Regions from separate parts of the Homo sapiens genome. Here all the other regions are linked to region 5. Evidence: promoter capture Hi-C in 16 types of primary human blood cells and fetal thymus (Javierre and others, 2016). All regions are on one chromosome and are shown on one strand. Each heading gives the region's core, a stretch centred on a gene start or on the middle of the fragment in contact. The rest is flanking DNA. Distances are from core to core; before and after follow the strand shown. Region 1 holds the start of ARHGEF1 (Rho guanine nucleotide exchange factor 1). Region 2 holds the start of RPS19 (ribosomal protein S19). Region 3 holds the start of PAF1 (PAF1 component of Paf1/RNA polymerase II complex). Region 4 holds the start of SAMD4B (sterile alpha motif domain containing 4B). Region 5 holds the start of ACTMAP (actin maturation protease). Region 6 holds the start of ERF (ETS2 repressor factor).

What was found. The method cuts DNA at HindIII sites, captures the fragments that hold promoters and counts their contacts. A CHiCAGO score of 5 or more calls a contact.
Region 1: a contact is called between the fragment with the promoter of ARHGEF1 here and the fragment with the promoter of ACTMAP in region 5, in 1 of 17 cell types (naive CD4 T cells). The highest score is 5.1, in naive CD4 T cells.
Region 2: a contact is called between the fragment with the promoter of RPS19 here and the fragment with the promoter of ACTMAP in region 5, in 3 of 17 cell types (naive CD4 T cells, total B cells and naive CD8 T cells). The highest score is 6.6, in naive CD4 T cells.
Region 3: the fragment with the promoter of PAF1 here is called in contact with the fragment with the promoter of ACTMAP in region 5 in 1 of 17 cell types (fetal thymus); the score reaches 5.8 in fetal thymus.
Region 4: the fragment with the promoter of SAMD4B here is called in contact with the fragment with the promoter of ACTMAP in region 5 in 1 of 17 cell types (naive CD4 T cells); the score reaches 5.4 in naive CD4 T cells.
Region 6: the fragment with the promoter of ERF here is called in contact with the fragment with the promoter of ACTMAP in region 5 in 2 of 17 cell types (fetal thymus and total CD8 T cells); the score reaches 6.2 in fetal thymus.

The regions. Positions count from the first base shown.
Region 1 is chr19:41,881,934-41,884,633 of GRCh38, forward strand. It overlaps ARHGEF1 (Rho guanine nucleotide exchange factor 1), which reads left to right and starts at 1,251. Exons shown (of 29, transcript NM_004706.4): 1 at 1,251-1,356. RefSeq lists silencers at 936-1,445, 2,310-2,459 and an enhancer at 2,326-2,535. The HindIII fragment of the contact is 8,882 bases long and covers 1-2,700 here.
Region 2 is chr19:41,858,996-41,861,695 of GRCh38, forward strand. RPS19 (ribosomal protein S19) reads left to right here and starts at 1,260. Exons shown (of 6, transcript NM_001022.4): 1 at 1,260-1,294; 2 at 1,780-1,850; 3 at 2,117-2,217. The coding sequence starts at 1,780. RefSeq lists an enhancer at 963-1,718 and silencers at 1,272-1,401, 1,462-1,581. The HindIII fragment of the contact is 18,374 bases long and covers 1-2,700 here.
Region 3 is chr19:39,389,717-39,392,416 of GRCh38, forward strand. It overlaps PAF1 (PAF1 component of Paf1/RNA polymerase II complex), which reads right to left and starts at 1,390. Exons shown (of 14, transcript NM_019088.4): 1 at 1,102-1,390; 2 at 544-573; 3 at 353-445; 4 at 1-45. The coding sequence starts at 1,148. MED29 (mediator complex subunit 29) reads left to right here and starts at 1,662. Exons shown (of 4, transcript NM_017592.4): 1 at 1,662-1,922. The coding sequence starts at 1,707. It also overlaps a transcript of SAMD4B not described here. RefSeq lists a silencer at 48-179 and an enhancer at 1,717-2,006. The HindIII fragment of the contact is 958 bases long and covers 769-1,726 here.
Region 4 is chr19:39,341,120-39,343,819 of GRCh38, forward strand. It overlaps SAMD4B (sterile alpha motif domain containing 4B), which reads left to right and starts at 1,302. Exons shown (of 14, transcript NM_001384574.2): 1 at 1,302-1,457. RefSeq lists a silencer at 991-1,420. The HindIII fragment of the contact is 6,593 bases long and covers 1-1,674 here.
Region 5 is chr19:40,749,227-40,751,726 of GRCh38, forward strand. ACTMAP (actin maturation protease) reads right to left here and starts at 1,251. Exons shown (of 6, transcript NM_198476.5): 1 at 255-1,251. The coding sequence starts at 577. SNRPA (small nuclear ribonucleoprotein polypeptide A) reads left to right here and starts at 1,977. Exons shown (of 6, transcript NM_004596.5): 1 at 1,977-2,255. The coding sequence starts at 2,183. RefSeq lists enhancers at 702-1,327, 1,019-1,258, 1,799-1,868, 1,956-2,500 and silencers at 1,459-1,598, 1,863-2,045. The HindIII fragment of the contact is 2,474 bases long and covers 1-1,645 here.
Region 6 is chr19:42,253,865-42,256,564 of GRCh38, forward strand. ERF (ETS2 repressor factor) reads right to left here and starts at 1,264. Exons shown (of 4, transcript NM_006494.4): 1 at 1,114-1,264. The coding sequence starts at 1,135. RefSeq lists silencers at 6-125, 216-285, 366-1,055, 1,066-1,465 and enhancers at 821-1,320, 1,961-2,492. The HindIII fragment of the contact is 3,576 bases long and covers 1-2,604 here.

The sequences.
Region 1 (2,700 bases), core at 1-2,500, 1.1 Mb after region 5:
CCGGCCGCTTTTTTTTTTTTTTTTTTTTTTTTTGAGGCAGAGTCTGACTCTGTCGCCCAGGCTGGAGTGCAGTGGCGCAATCTCAGCCCACTTCAACCTCCACCTCAAGCGATTCTTGTACCTCAGGCTCCCGAGTAGCTGGGATGACAGGCATGTGCTACCACACCCAGCTAATTTTTGTTTTAGTAGAGACAGGGTTTCGCCATGTTGGCCGGGCTGGTCTCGAACTCCTGACCTCAAGTGATCCACCATGCTTCGGCCTCCCAAAGTGCTGGGATTACAGGCATGAGCCACTTTATGCGTATTTAAGCCTTGGAAACACAGGGACTATCTTGTGGATTGGGGCTAGTACAGAATTCAGACTGCAGCCTTTTCCCGATGCGTTGACTTACAGAAGGGGCATTTTGGAGGGTCTGTGGTCCTAACCTGGGGATAGCAGGGAGATCCCGGGGCAATGACAGAGAGGCACAGAGACACGGATTTCCTGAGAAAGGGAGAGGAGAGAGGCTGAGACCCAGGGATCATGAAGGGGACGAGCAAGGGAAGGAAGAGATGATGAGACCCTGGGAATCCGGGAGAGAGACAGGGACGTGGAGAGAAAGGGACAGAGAGAGAGCGAGAAGGAAAGGAAGAGACAGAAGGGAGAAGGGGCAACCGAAAATGGGCACGAAGAGGCCCAGGCACAGCAACAGCTGGGGAAATGACAGAGACTGAGACGGAGATGCAGAAAGATACAGAGAGAGCTGGAGAGGGTAGAGAAGGGCTTTCGGGGAGAAAGTGATGGAGGGACAGAGAGGAGAGGTGGAGGCCAAGGAGGGAAAGACCCCAGTAGAGAAAGACAGAGGGACAGAGAAGGGGATGCAGACGCAGGCGGGAGCACACCCACAGAGGCGAAGGAAGGGCGCAAGACCATGAGAACCACAGACGCGGAAAGCCGGGGAGGTCGTGGCTCGGTCTAGGGCGCACGGGGAGCAGGGCTTGCCCCCCAGCACCTCCGGGGAGGTGACCCCAGCCGGGAGATGCGAGTCCCGCGGAGCCCGCGCCCGGCGGACGGACCGATGGACAAAGCCGGGGAGAGCTCGGGCGCGGCCGGGGCGGGGGCCGGTGCCCGCAGGGACCCGGGCGCAGCGGGGAAAGGAGGGGCGGGCAAGCGGCGAGAAGGGGAAGGAAGCGGAGGTGCCGGGCGGGCGCGGGGCGCGGGCAGGAAGCGGGGAGGGGCGGCGGGGCGGGGGCCTCCGGAAAAACGCCCCGACTTCCTGCCCCGCCAGAGCCAGGAAGCGGGAGCCGGGACCCAGGGCCCGGGATCGCCGAGCCCGACCTCGGGCGCCCCGCCGGTCACCTCCGCGCGGACACCAGGTACTCGGTCCCCGGCCCCGCCCGGCCTCCTCCCCTCGGCTGTTGGGGGAAGTGGGGAGGAGGAGGGAGGGGCTGGGGCGCTGCCGGCAGCGGAGGGGCCCCCTTCGGACCCCACGGAACCAGCGGCCGCCCCTCCTTGGGCCTCAGTTTTCCCATCTGTCAAAGGGAGCAAAGAGGGGAGAACTCACACTTGACGAGTGCCCCATAGGTGGGGACGAACGGTGCGAGGCCGGGGCCAAGGCCTCCCACCTGCTCAGTGGAGAACGGACGATCACTACCATTGTACGGGTGGGGAAACCGAGGCCCGGGGAGCCAAACCGACTCGTCCCAGGGAACGCACATCGTGAGAAAGTGTGGAGTTGGGATTTGAACTCGCACGTGCTTTCCGCAAAGCGCCATCCTCCAACCCCCGCATGCTTTAGGGCCACCTAAAAATGAAAAACAACAATAACAACAACGACGAGGGTCGCTGTGAAGCTGAAAGTTGCAGAGTGCATTTGAAAGAGTTTTCGGAAAGCTCTTTTCTAGGTCATTAATTATACCGTGAGAGACAGGTGTAGGGAGAGAGCTGGAGGCCTTCTCCCATTGTACGGATGGGAAGACTGAGGTCTACAGAGAAGTCATTACTTTTTGCAGATTACACTGCATGTCAGAGGGAAAGTTGTGCTGGAACTCAAGACTATTGCTTTTCCGGTTCCAAAGGAAGGGGCTGGGGGTGGGAGACGGAGGGGATTGATGTACGAGGATTGGAAATTCAGCGGGTCCCCTAAGTGGGGAGACTAATAGGACGGGGAGCCCCAGTCCGCCGTCCGAGTGCTCAGCGCTGGGGTGACTAGGAGATCTCCGATCGAACTCGGGAGGAGTTGGACCCATCTGCACCTCCGGGCGCGGGGCGGGGCCCGGGGAGTGACGGGGGCAGTCGAGATACGGAAACGCTGGCCCTCCAAGACAGGCCAGAGCGGCCCTATCTGGCCTGCGTGGCGCAGTACAGCGCTAGAGCGGCCGGCGGGAGGAGTAGAGTCGTCGGGGCCGGAGCCCGGCAGGAGCCGGGCTAGAGCGGCTGGCAGGAGGAGTGGAGCTGGGCGCAAAGGTGGACTCAGGGCGGCTAGAGCGACGCGGCGGCAGGGGTGGGGAGAGTGCGGAGCCCGAGCGCGGAGGCTTCGGTTCCGGTGGCGGCGATGGCTTCTCTTTCCACCTGGAGCAGGTGAGGGACGCGGTCCCCAGCGGGTGTCAGACCCTGACTCTGCACGTCCTCCCCGGCATCCCTGGCCGTGCACACTGCCACGTCCCCCGTAGGATTTAGGGCCCGCGTAAGACCCGCCACGTCCATGTAAGATTTGGGTC
Region 2 (2,700 bases), core at 10-2,509, 1.1 Mb after region 5:
TACATGAATGTAAAACCTTGATTTAAATATATGATCTTATGCTAGAAGCATGGTTGGTTTTAATTTTTCTAACAGATACGAGTCTTGGCTTATTAATAATTAACACATTTTGCAGCCACAGTATCAGTGTGGGGTAAAATTCTAATATTTGCTCTTATGTTTTAAATTCTCAGTCTTTCCAACATAAGAAAATAGCTACACACATTTCAGTGTTTCCTTTTTGCAACAAGTTAACATAATTTTATTGGACCACGTTATTTAGTTGTTGGGCCTTGTAAGGATTAAATGAGATCATGCATGTAACACTACAGTAACAGCCACATGATAAATGTCCAAATAATATTTACCTGTGCCTGGCACAGAGCAGGCACTCAAAAAATATTTTTTAGAGCATGTGACGCGCCATGAACCAGAGGAGCCACTTTAAATGGACAAACGGGGATCTCATTTTTTTTTTTTTTTTTTAATGGTGAGACAAGCCCTGAGAAGGCAAATGGACTGCCTAAAGCTACACAGGTCAGCGGGGCAGGTAAATCTAAATTGGCAAAGTAAGGGCTGAGCGAACAGACTCCGACACTAGAAGGCAGAGCTGAACTAACTTCTGCTAAGGTCCCGCCTCTGCCGCTTTGTCCCGCCCTTATCTTCTCCCCTCCTCCAGCGCCTCATTCCCTTTTCGCTCGCCCCGGCCGTGCTGAAGCAACTTCCGCCCTGAGAAGGGTGGGGCTTCCGTCTCCCGCTCTCGCGACTCCTGGCGGTGAAGGACGGAAGATGATAGCCACATTTCTTCCTCGCCCTTCCCCTAGGTTCCCTGTCACAGTTCCGCCCTTACTACTCCCACTTCCGGCCAGGGAACAGCCACTTCCACCCGGAAAAGGGGTTGTTCCGCCGTGGGGCGCCAGCTGTGGCCCACCCATCCTGCCCCGTACTTTCGCCATCATAGTATTCTCCACCACTGTTCCTTCCAGCCACGAACGACGCAAACGAAGCCAAGTTCCCCCAGCTCCGAACAGGAGCTCTCTATCCTCTCTCTATTACACTCCGGGAGAAGGAAACGCGGGAGGAAACCCAGGCCTCCACGCGCGACCCCTTGGCCCTCCCCTTTACCTCTCCACCCCTCACTAGACACCCTCCCCTCTAGGCGGGGACGAACTTTCGCCCTGAGAGAGGCGGAGCCTCAGCGTCTACCCTCGCTCTCGCGAGCTTTCGGAACTCTCGCGAGACCCTACGCCCGACTTGTGCGCCCGGGAAACCCCGTCGTTCCCTTTCCCCTGGCTGGCAGCGCGGAGGCCGCACGGTAAGCGGGGGCTCCGAGCTGGACCGGGCGCGAGGCGGCAGGGCCGGACGCCGAAGCCTCAGAGCGCGTGCCTGAGGGCCCCGAGGCGCCCGGCGCGGGCCCGTCCCGCCCCCTAGAGCCGCGGCCACGTGCGAGCGGCAGGCCCGGACATGCCCGGTCAGCGCCGTCCGGGAACCGAGCGTGGGCCCCGGGGGGCAGCGGCGGGGTGCGTGGGGCGTCCGGAGTCCCGGGGCTGGGGAGTGGGGTCGCGCAGGATCCTCACACGCAGGGGCCGGGCTCTGTTAGTGCGATCCAGAGAGGCCGTGGGCGTCGGTGAGCTCCTTCAGACCCGCAGGAGCCGGAGCCCGGCGTTGAAGGGGCCGTGGGAAGTAACGGGGGGTACCACGGTTTAGGATGCGCTGGAGCGAAAGGATTGGGGTGGGGTCCGTGCTCTTGGCAGTCGTCTCTGCCAGGCCTGTGTTCACATGCTTGACTTTCTCCCTCAGATGCCTGGAGTTACTGTAAAAGACGTGAACCAGCAGGAGTTCGTCAGAGCTCTGGCAGCCTTCCTCAAAAAGTGAGTTTGGGGACTGAGGTTCAAAACGGGTGGAGGCTGTCGCCTTGGCCTGCCCATCTGAGCCCCAGTGTTTGCCGGTCCCTGGCAGGCGAGGCTTGTTTGGGGCCTCCGTGGCTCCTTTCAGCGTGAGGCCTGGCTTGTGTTCCGGTTCCAGCCTCTCTTTGTACTCTGGGCACAGCATAGTTGTGTTGAGGGGAGGGCATTTGGGATATGGGGTAGTTTGTGGAGATGACTGAATCGTGCTTTTCCCACTGTTTTGGTCTTAGGTCCGGGAAGCTGAAAGTCCCCGAATGGGTGGATACCGTCAAGCTGGCCAAGCACAAAGAGCTTGCTCCCTACGATGAGAACTGGTTCTACACGCGAGCTGGTGAGGAACTTAGGTCTTTGGCTGGAGAGTGGGGAGCTGGGTGACCCCTGGCACAAACCATACTTCCCTGTCTCCTCTGAGCTCTTTCCCGCCCCAAGAGGGAGAGAAACCCTTGGTTGTGTCACCACTTGCTTTGTGTGATGTGACATTCGATAACTTGGTACTCCAAGTTTTTATGACATTCTAAGAGCTTTGTGAGAGGAGGACCTGTGGCTTTGAGCCTCAGGGGAAACCAGAGACAGATGAATGTTCATATTTTGCTTACAGGTGGTTTAATCCTTTCTATATACACGGAGGCAGACTCCCTGGGTTTGGATCCATCTTTTACATCTGGCTGTGTGTCCTCTGGCAAGTTGGTTAACCTGCCTGTGCACTCTCTCATCCCCAAAATGGGACTAATTATTGTACCAGTACTAGAGTATTGCAAGGATTGAATGAATTTAAAGCAGAGTGTTTAGAACGTGTCTGTTGCACAGTAGTTAT
Region 3 (2,700 bases), core at 140-2,639, 1.4 Mb before region 5:
TGTTTGTGCTGTTTCTCCAAGGAAGTGGCTTTGTACTGGACGAACCTGGGTGGGGAAACACCTATTGTGGTGTTTGGATTCCAGCTTCACCCCTCACAGCCCTGCTTCCCAGAGGCGGAGCTTCTCTGGGGAGGAACTCAGAATGAAGTGTCCCCCATGGCAGAGTCTGAAAGCTGGCTCCCCAGTGGGAAGGGACTTGGACACTGCTTGCTCCATTAACAATTGAGCAGCTACTACTATGTGCTAGGGTAGGTACTGTGCTAGGCCCTGAGCAGACAGCAGCCAACGAGACAAGCAGTCCCTGCCTTCAAGGAACTCATACCTGAGTAGTTTTCCCATTCCTTAGTCTCACCTGTTCTGGTCGAAGGGGTAGGTGATGAACTTGGGGTCGAAGGGGATATCAGGGAGGCTATTGCAGTACTTGACTCGGCAGACCACTCCAGACCTAGGAACATTAGTGGCTCAAAAGTGGGCCCCCGCTGCCCCACCTCTGCTCCCAGCCCCACTGCCCCACCGCTCCTGGGAAAGCACAGTGGGGCTCACCTCTCAGGCAGAGTCCGGTGGGAATTGGGCCTAGTGGAGAAGAAAGAAACAGTGATAGGTGGAGAGGACGGGATTGACAGGAGAATGAAAAAGGCTTCCCCAACCTTTCAAAAGGTAGGAGGGGTGACAAATGCTGGTTTCTTTGGGTGGTGGTGTGGGGAGTGTCCAAATGCTTTAATGGAAGGAGACAAATGTTCAATTTATTTAGGAAGAAATGCCCCCAAAAGCTTTAATGAACAAGGCCAAGTGCTCAATCCCTTTTGCAGGAGATGGCTTCAAGTGCTTTAATAAAGAACCATGTACTCAATCGTCTTCGGAAGAGGGGTCTCCAAACGGTTGACTGGAGGGATCCCTTCTGGAGGGAGTCTCCAAAAGCCTAATCCCTGAACTGCACGGCGGGGAGGAGGGGAACACCTGAATCTCAGAAGGAACCCGCCCCCTTCGTCAAAGGTGAGCGCTTCATGACGTCACGGGCAGACCTGGGGGCTGGTGACGTTGTTCAGCAGAAACCCTCTCCCGATCCCCCGCCTTGCTGCAACAGAAAAGCGTGGCGCCTACCTGTGGCCATCCTCCCGCTGGGCCTGGGTCTGGATGGTGGGCGCCATAGCGACGAGGCGACGGCAGCCCGGACGGGGTCCTAGCGGGACCGAAGGGGGACGCAGAGGGGCGTGCCGACTTCAGGGGACGCCTGATCCGAGGAAGGCCCAGCTTGGCGCCGCTCCCCGCGGAAAGTGGGTTGAGATGAGGTGGGCGGGCGAGAAGAGCTCCAGCGAGACTCAGGTGAACGCGCAGGCAGCACCGGGGACGGACTCGAAGCTCCGGTTCCACCAACTGCCGCCAAGACGCTGAGGACCCAACGGGTCTCCTCAGGCCGCGACGCCTTCGGGGAAATGAAGTCCGGCTCGGAACCACACACGGATTGGCGAGCGTCTGGGTGAAGGGCGGAGCGAGGGAGAGAGGTGCTTCTGTGATTGGTGGAGAGATATCTCAGTCTGGACGCAGATTTGAGAGTGACGTAACGTTGGGGCACCTCCTTCCCCTCCATTGGCTTAATTGCCTAGGGGGCGGGACTAACTAGCAAACGGGGACTAGAAATAGGGATGCTGAAAAGCAACGGGGAGAGACGCAGTCGTAACGCACTTCCGGCGGTCTACGCGAGGAAGATGGCTGCATCCCAGCAGCAAGCTTCAGCGGCTTCCTCAGCTGCTGGTGTATCGGGTCCTAGTTCGGCTGGCGGCCCGGGTCCCCAGCAGCAGCCGCAACCGCCAGCACAACTGGTGGGCCCTGCCCAGAGCGGCCTCCTGCAGCAACAGCAACAGGACTTCGATCCTGTGCAGCGTTATAAGATGCTCATCCCGCAGCTGAAGGAGAGTCTACAGGTGATTGGCCTTAAGCAGCGAGAAGCAAACTGGATTTGGTAGTCTAGAGGGGCAGGCCGAGGGCCAGGTTAGTCGGAGAGAGCGCTAAGCAGAAAGAGGAATAGAACCTGCTGTTTTGGCCTGGCTGGTGCACGCCTGTGTTCCCAGCACTTTGGGAGGCCGAGGCGGGCGGATCACTTGAGGTCAGGAGTTCAAGACCAGCCTGGTGAAACCTCGTCTCTACTAAAAATACAAAAATTAGCCGGGCATGGTGGCGCGCGCCTGTAATTACAGCTACTCGGGAAGCTGAGGCAGGAGAATCGCTTGAACCCAGGAGGCGGAGGTTGCAGTGAGCCGACATCGTGCCATTGCACTCCAGCCTGGGCAACAGAGCGAGACTCCGTCAAAAAAATAAATAAATAAATAAATAAAACTGTTGTTTTCTGCGAGACCTAAGCGAAGCTCGGCAGAGATGGGATCAGCGCTGATGCTGAGGCTGGGACTGGCCGGAGCTTGAGTGAGGGGTTGTTTAAAGGAGAAACTGGGCTCTGGTCGTTAAAGCCTGAGGAGAGTACTGGCTTATACGGAGATTCTGCCCTTGATTGATAGGTGAGGGAGGACCCTTAGGTTATTGGCGAGAAGCTCAGGTGAGAGCGGGCCTCTGGGAGGATGGAGTGGTGACAGCTATAGGAATGGAAACGAATATTACTTTGGAAAGTCAGGAGGGAAGGTGCCAGTTGAAAAGAAAACCTGAGACTGAGTGATCTCAAGAAAGAGTGTAGATCTGCCAGAGGTATTC
Region 4 (2,700 bases), core at 52-2,551, 1.4 Mb before region 5:
CTTGGTCTCCAGCCTCAATTTCTCCCTTAAGCTCCAGACCCAGGGTTTGTGCACCTCCTGGACCTCGCTACTAGGCATCCACATTGGGCTTAGTATCTTCCCAACCTGCTTCTGGCGCCCAGTCTCCCGGCTAGAGGGGCCTGGTCCTAAACTTTTCTCCCCCTTCCACTCCATAGCCAGCCAGTGTCAGGGCCCGTTCGCTCTGCCTCCAGGGCGTCCCTCCCACCTGCACCTCCTTCCCTCCCCACAGTCCCTCCCTCGTGCAAACCCCCTCTTTCTTCCCCACCCCCTCCCCCAGCTGCCTCCCTGGACTCCCGATCCCGTTTCATTCCCTCCAATCCGCCCTCCATGTATAAGCCAGAGAGACATCTCTCCAAAACCCCAGACTCACCATGATCCTCCCCGGCTTGAAGCCCTTCACGGCTCCCTAGTGCCCTCGGGACAAGTCCAAACTCCCTCAAGTGGCCAAACAACTGGCCTCTGCTCGTTCCTCACCCCTCCCTGTCTTCAACTCGACCCTCCATCCCGACTGCCTCTCTAAGTGCCTGTAACAAGCCAGATCTCTGTCACCGAGAGCCTTCTGAACACAGGTCCCTCTGATTAGTTCACCCGGACCCAATACAGTTTGTGGAACGCACAGATCACAACCAAAGTCACAGCAACAACTCCCGTTTATTGACAGCCTCCTTGATCCTTAGCGCTTTCTGTGCATTCTCTTCCCACCCTAAAGGCTAGATCTCGCCTCGCCATTCCCATCGGAGAGAGCAAGCGGCAAGGCTGAGAACAGCGCGATGAGAAAGCCGAGCGCCCAGAAGCCCGAGTGCAGACGCCCACTGAGGACAGCCTTGGGTGAGGCGGGCCACCCAAGGGGCGGGGAAGAGGAGGCCTGGAACGCCTGAATCAGGAACTGTGACTTCGCTCGGGGCAGCTGGGGTGGACGCGCGCGAGCCTGCCCCCTGCGGGCCTGGAGGCCCAACCTCAGACTCCGCCGGGCCCGTTGCCCTGGGCAACGCCCCGCGCGCCCCGCCCCTTCCCCGCCCCCCAGCCCCAAACCCCAGGCCTGGCCGACTGCCCGTCACCCCCACGTCCGACCAATCCCGCCGAGGAGGGGGCGGGCCTCTTGGGCCCCGTTCCACCACCGTCGCTCCCCCCTCGCCGCGACCCCGCCTTACTCGGCTCACACCTCCCGCCCTTCGGGCTGCCCTCGCCGCCCGTTGGCTGGCGCGCCGTTCGTCACCCGGGCGTGAGCTAATGCCGGCGCGCGGCGGCCCCCGTCGGGGCGGGGCCAGGGGCGGTGACGCACGGCGCGGTGACGCAGCGCGACGGCGGCGGCGGCGGCGGCGGCGGTGGTCGGTGCGGGAGGAGGGAGGGGAGCTTGCGGGCCCGAGAGGGGGCGACGGCGGCGGCGGTGGCCTGAGGAGGCCCGAGCGGCGGCGGTGGCGGCGAAGGCCGAGGCGGTGAGTCTCGGGCCGGGCCGGCGCGGGGCGGCGGCGAGTCGGGGCGCGCGGGGCTCCCCTCAGGGCGACCCAGGCCGCGCGGGCGGCCCCGCCCCCTCAGGGACCCCGAACCGCGGGCGGCGGCGGCGGGCGGGTGCGGAACGCGGGCCTCGGGGGGCCGGGCCCCACGGGAGAAGCCCCGCGCCCGTCCCCAGTCTCCCTCCTGGGCCCTGGCCGAAGCTTCCCTCCGAAATCTTTCTCATGCCCTCGGGATTGCCGAGGGGCCGGGCCGGGGGCCTCTCCTCAGGACCCCCCGCACATCCCCCTCGGAGAGCCCCGGAAAGCCTGCCGATCCCCCGTGTGCGCCCTGAAAGGTCCCCGCAAAACCCACCCCTCCCGTGGAGTCGCCTCCTCGAGCCCTTCATGGGTCCCAGCAGCTTTCCTCGCAGACCCCCGCCCTTTGGCCCCGAAGCCCCCGTCCTCCTCCTGTCTCCAGAAATAGTCCTCGGAGGCCACTCCTCGTCCATTCCACAGCGTGGCTCTCATAGCTGCTCCAGGAGCCTCCCTCACGAGCCCTGCACACCTCCCCAAGGCTCCCTCCGGACCCCTGTCCATTCCAGAACTCTCCCCCGGAGCCCTGCCTCTCACAGCCCAACAGGCTCACCCGACTTCCCCCTCCCGGATCCTAAGAATTTTCCCTCCCACTTACCCCATTCCAGAAACCTCCTTGGAGATTTTCCGCTCATACCCCCTGCATTTCTGATTCCCCCTCCCAGAAGTCCTTCAGAATGCCCCCGACGGACCGTGATCATCTTCCCTGAAGATCTCCTTCCCATATCCCCAAAATAAATCTTCCTCACAGACTTTGTGAAATGCCCCCAGATCCCAAAAACTCACCTAGAAGACTCCATCCCCCTCCCCACCGTATTGCAACCATCTCTCATACACACTCCCCCTTCACGTATCCCTCTGGACCTTTCCACAGATCCCAAAAGTCTCCCCCAGAGGCCTCCTGTCTCCCCCTGGTCTCACCACCCTAAAATGCCCTAGAGATCACCCTCATGTAGCCCAGTGATCTTCACCGGGATCCCCTTCCCCACCCCCACTCATTCTAAAAATCTCCAGCAATTGCCTGAAATCTCCAGAGGACTCTCAGCATCATATTCCAAAAGCTTCTTCCAAAATCCCTTTTACATACTCCACATCTTTTCCAGTCCCCCACATCACACGCTCCAAAAATTGTTTAAGGATCCTGAAAACTTTC
Region 5 (2,500 bases), core at 1-2,500:
GTGATCCACCCGCCTCGGCCTCCCAAAGTGCTGGGATTACATGCATGAGCCAAAGCACCCGGACTGGACTGGGCACTTGTGAGGACAGCTTTCTTCATTGCTGGAGGCACACCACCATGGAAGAGATCTAGGTGGGGGACCTAAGTAGTCAGCCTGTTTGATCTTGAGGACACGGGAACCCCCCCCCCACCCCAAGAGATCTGTGAAGTGTCTAGGGCAGAGCCTGGGTGGTGGGTGGGGCATGGAGACCCTACCGGTCCTTGTGTAGTTTCAGAAGCCTCTTCACATCTTCTCTGCCCTTGGGGACCGGGCCGGCCTTATCAAAGGCCTCCTTCAGGAGCTGGCTCTTCTCCAGGCCGAAGACATGACGGGGAGCAGGCCCTGTGGCAGCGGGTGGAGGAGGCAGTGGGAGCGGTGGGGGAACAGGGGTCTGCTGACTCCAGGGAGGGGATGGTAAAGCTGAAAAGTCCAGGGGACTTGGGGGTAGAGGAGGAGATGGAATGCTGCTGGCTTGGGGTACAGGGGTTTTTGGAGGAGAAATTGGTGGTTTTAGGGGAGGAGAGCATGGAGAAGTCATTTTGGGGTCTACAGGAGGTGTTGAGAGGTTCAGAAAGCGGGGAGGGAAGGATCCTCCAACGGAGAACGGTCTCAGGGATGGAGATTTTAAAGGTTTAAGAGCTGAGTTCCAGAATCTGGGGACTGAGCAGTGGGTGTGAAAGGACCAGGGCTAATATTTGAAACCACGGGAGCAGGAATTGCGAGGCTGACTCAAGTCATAAGGCACCTGACGGTTAACAGGGTGGGGTCCTTAAATCCGGAACCGGATCTGTGGTACCGGTTGGGTTACCTCGGGAGTCTTAGGTGGAGAGTTAGTAGGAGTTAACTCATTCTTTGGGGCTGGATGTGGAAACTCATGAGTGAGTTTGGGATATGAAGGCTCAGATCTAGAGTGAGGTGCCTTAAGGATGCGACTTAGGGACCCAGGGCTAAAGATTCGGAGAACTTAGGTTCAGTACCCCCTCACATCCCAGGCCCGAGTTCGGAACCTTTGAGCTGACCTTTGAGTCAGAGGTCAAGAGGTCAAAAAGGACACCTGGCAGGGAAAATGGCCTAGTTGTGGAGAAGGTCCTGGAACCAGAGCAACAAAAAACGTCTGTGGGTTGGAGAAGACTCAGAGATCAGAGGCCGGTGGGCGCCGCGATAACCACTGGAAAAAGGAAAGGAGTCAGGAAGTAAAGTGCACCTCCCACTCCCGGAAAATGGCGGCCCCCGCACACTGCCTTTCCCATATCACGTGGTATTACACGCAACAGTTCCCGCCCATTTTGCGATCACGTGACAGAAAACGCAGCTCTGGCGGGGGTAAGAGGCGGGACTCCAAAAAGGATTGCCTCCGGAAGACACCGCAGCGCGAGACGCGTACAGACTCGTGACCTTCACTGATTGGTCCGTAGACCCGGGCGCCACGGAAGGAGGTGGGCTTTCAGGGAGTGGGGCGGGGTTTTTCTACCTAGGCGGGAACCCAAATATCGTTTTGATTGGCAACAGCTGAGCCCAGAAACGAGACTTGCTCTGATTGGTCAAGCTACTGCGTTTCCGCGCGGCGATTGGCTGGCAGAAAGGCAGAGGCGGGGCCAGGAGAGAAAGCTTTGTGGTTTGGTCTCAGGGAAGTAGCAGGCGCCGGTTGAGAGAACTACGGCCCTGTCGGAAGGTAACCTCCGGTGCAAACGACCATCGGCGGCAGGCGAGCGGTACGCTTGGCGTCCGGGCCTTCCTGGGCCCGTCTGAGGAAACTTGCTGCTCGAGGCCAGGCTGCCTAGGACCTGTCCCTTTTTTCTATACTGGCTCCCACATCCGGGTTTTTTCTCCGGGACGGCCCTTCGGATGCTTGGGCCAATGGGAATCGCCATTTAGGGTGCTCCGCCCACCGGGTCGCGTAGAGCATCCTGGAAGTCGTAGTAAATCTCTCGAGAGTTCTCTCCGCACGCGGGCTGGAGAAGCGGGTCCTACGCACGCTTTGTTGTCGCGCTTTGCCTCCGTCCTTGCCCCTACTCCCGCCTTACCTGACTTCCTTTTCGGAGGAAGATCCTTGAGCAGCCGACGTTGGGACAAAGGATTTGGAGAAACCCAGGGCTAAAGTCACGTTTTTCCTCCTTTAAGACTTACCTCAACACTTCACTCCATGGCAGTTCCCGAGACCCGCCCTAACCACACTATTTATATCAACAACCTCAATGAGAAGATCAAGAAGGATGGTGAGTTCTCGGGATAGTCCGGAGTCCAGACTGTCCCGCACGGGCTGGCCCCTCTTCCGTCCCCTGCACCCGCCTCTCTTTCTAAGTGTTTGTCCAGCCAAACTTCGAGTTAACTCCTTGGCCTTTACACAAACTACTTCCTGTCTTCAACACTCCATTAGTTCATCTTACACTCTGCCCTTTAACGTGGTCACTGCTGCTCATCTTACAAGGTTTGAGGTCACAGGACCCTTCCTCCAGGAAGC
Region 6 (2,700 bases), core at 14-2,513, 1.5 Mb after region 5:
CGCCGCCGCCGCCGCCGCCGCCGGGGGAAGGAAACAAGTTTGAACAGCGGCGCCCGGCCCCCTTCCCCCTCCCCCGTCCCCGCCCCGGGCCGGATTCCGACGGGGTAGACGGGCAGGGGGCGGCTGGGACCCCTCCCCCTGCGCGCTCGGGCGCAAAGTCCAGCCCGCGCGAGCCCGGGGGCGGCGGGGGAGGGGAGGGGGAAAAGTCCGAGTGGGAGGGGGAGTTAATCCCGCTGCCCCCCGCCCGCCGACCGAGGGGGAGGGGAACCTTGGCCCCTTAAGGAGGAGCAAGTTGGCGGGGAAGAGAGGGGCGGAGGGAAGAGACGGCCCGCTGAAAGAGAAGAGGTGGATCCGGGAGGGGGGGCGAGGGGGGAGCCTCTGCGTCTCCCCCCACCTTCCCCACCCTCCTCAACCCCGGGCCACCGGTGGCGCGGGAGGAGGGTACCCAGGTCTCCCCGGAGCCACCTTAAAGCCGCGCGTTCTAAGGTCGGAAACAAAAAGTTCCTTTTTCGAACGTTCGGGCTGCGCTTTGGAACTTTGCGACTCGGCGAGGGCGGGGGAGCGAGGAGCCGACAGAGGCGGGCGGGGGAGGGGCGGCGCAGCCAGGACCCCGAGTCCCGGGCTCCCCACTCACGCCCTCCTCCTAGAGGCCATCCCGTATCCCCCGCTAACCTGGTGCAGGGCACGCGCCGCCGTGAAGGTCACCAGCAGGACCGCGCAGCGCAGAACCAGGGATAGCGGGCCCGGTGGACGAGCCCCCCCGCCCCGCACACGTCCCGGCCCCCAGAGTGCAACGTGACAAGAGCGGAGGGGAAGGACCCCGCCACCCCCGTGATCCCGGGAGTGGGGGAGAGCCCGGCCTGCGGGGTCCCGGTAGGGATACAGGACCAAGACCCGCAGCACCCACACCACTCCGCCCGGAGCCAGGAATCGGGGGTCCCAGGCAGCAACCCCGCTCGCGCCACGAGAAGCAACAGGTCTCCAGTGCTTGAGGGGTCCCCCAGAACTGGGGATCACTCGGGCTCCCCCGGACCCCTTCAGCCCCCCCAAAGTTTCTCCGTTCGGTTTCCCGGGGCAACAAGTCTCCCCCACACGTGCTGCCCCCGCCCCCACCTGTGTCCGCCGGGGTCTTCATGCTGGGGGGCCCGGGGCGAAGCGCCCCGATTCCGGGCCGCGGCTCCCGGCGCCCTCGCTGCCCCGTCCCGTCCCGCGCCCGTCGGGCCGCCCTCGCCGCCTCACCCGGCCTCGCCTCTCAGAGCCTCTCCCCTCCCCGCCGCCGCCTCCCGGGTTAATATCGCACTCCGGGGCCGGGACGCCCACGCCCCCCGGCCGGCGACGTCACCGCCGCGTCGCCATGGAGACACTGCGCCCGCCCCCTCCCCGCGCACTCACACACACGCTCGTCGGCGCGCAGCCACTGAGGACCGGCCGGCTCTGGGCTTAAAGGGGCCGCGCGGCGGGGGAGGGAGGAAGGAGGGGGTGGGGGTGGGATGGGGTCCCGCGGGTCATGACCCTAGTCAGAGGCTCCGAGTCTGCAGCTAACTTAAGTCTTCGGCACTCGCTACCTGCTGCCCCTCCTCCTCTCCTGCCCACTGCGGGCTCCAGAGTTTCTTTTGGGAGCCTGTATGGGAAAACGGGGGGCCCTTCCGAGGAAGCGGGGGTCAGAAACTTTTGTGGGGAGGGGGCAGAATCTTCTCTGCAGAGGGGCGGGGTCAGGACCTTAGAAGATGATGAAGACCACAGCATTTCCCAGCTTGGTTTTACCCAACCCCCCAACCCTGAGCCTGAATGGGGGCAGCTGTCCAGGGGTGGGGTGGAATGGGTGGGATGCATTTCCCAGCATCGGAAATGGGGAGGCGGCTGTGCCCTCCGCTCCTGTGGGGATGGGGTCTTGGCTTCCCTGATAACCCCCGTCCAGCTGGGGAGGAAGTGACCAGAGAGAATGCATTTGGAAGCCCCCACCACCACCGTCCCCAGGCTGCAGCTGTCCCGGGGATAGGGCTGGCGCCGGAGGTCCCCCCACGTCCACTACTAGGACCGGGGGTTCCGGAGGCGGGGCCGGGATACGAGGGGGCGACCAAAGTCTGAACAAATGTGCTCCCAAGGGGCACTGAGGGTCGCCAGGAGAGAGGAAGACAGGGCTTAAGATCGAAAGCCAGAGCGTAGAGAAGTGTTAAGTCTCCGTTCTCTGCCTCAGCCGGGAGGGAAGGATGAAGCCTGAGGCTCTGGGAAACAGGAAATCACAGCGCAGATCTGATGGAGCCCAGGAGCCGGCAGCAGGGTAGAGGCCAAATAGAAGCAATATTCACAGGCATAGCCTGGAAACAGAGTCTCAAAAAAGACTCTGAGGTTCCGAAGGAGGGGCGTATGGGTGGCGGGCGGGAGTTGGGGGGGCTGGGTGGGGGACGAATCCAGAAGATGGGCGGGGAGACAGAAAAGTCACAGATAGGGAAGGCCTGCGGAGCTCAGGCTCCCGGTACCCAGGGCTTCAATCCCAGCCTCCTCGCTTGCGGGGTACCTAGTCCACCTTAGACAGGCTCCTCACCAGTGCCTAAAAAAAAAAGTCTCAGGCCTCCTCCTTGGGGAGACCAAGGGCTCCAGGGAAGCTTTCCCCCACAACCCCCGGGAATTATGTAACCTTGCCTACGGACAGTACAGCTCCCCCACGGATATTGTAACCCTCTGGGAGCGGTGTGGTCC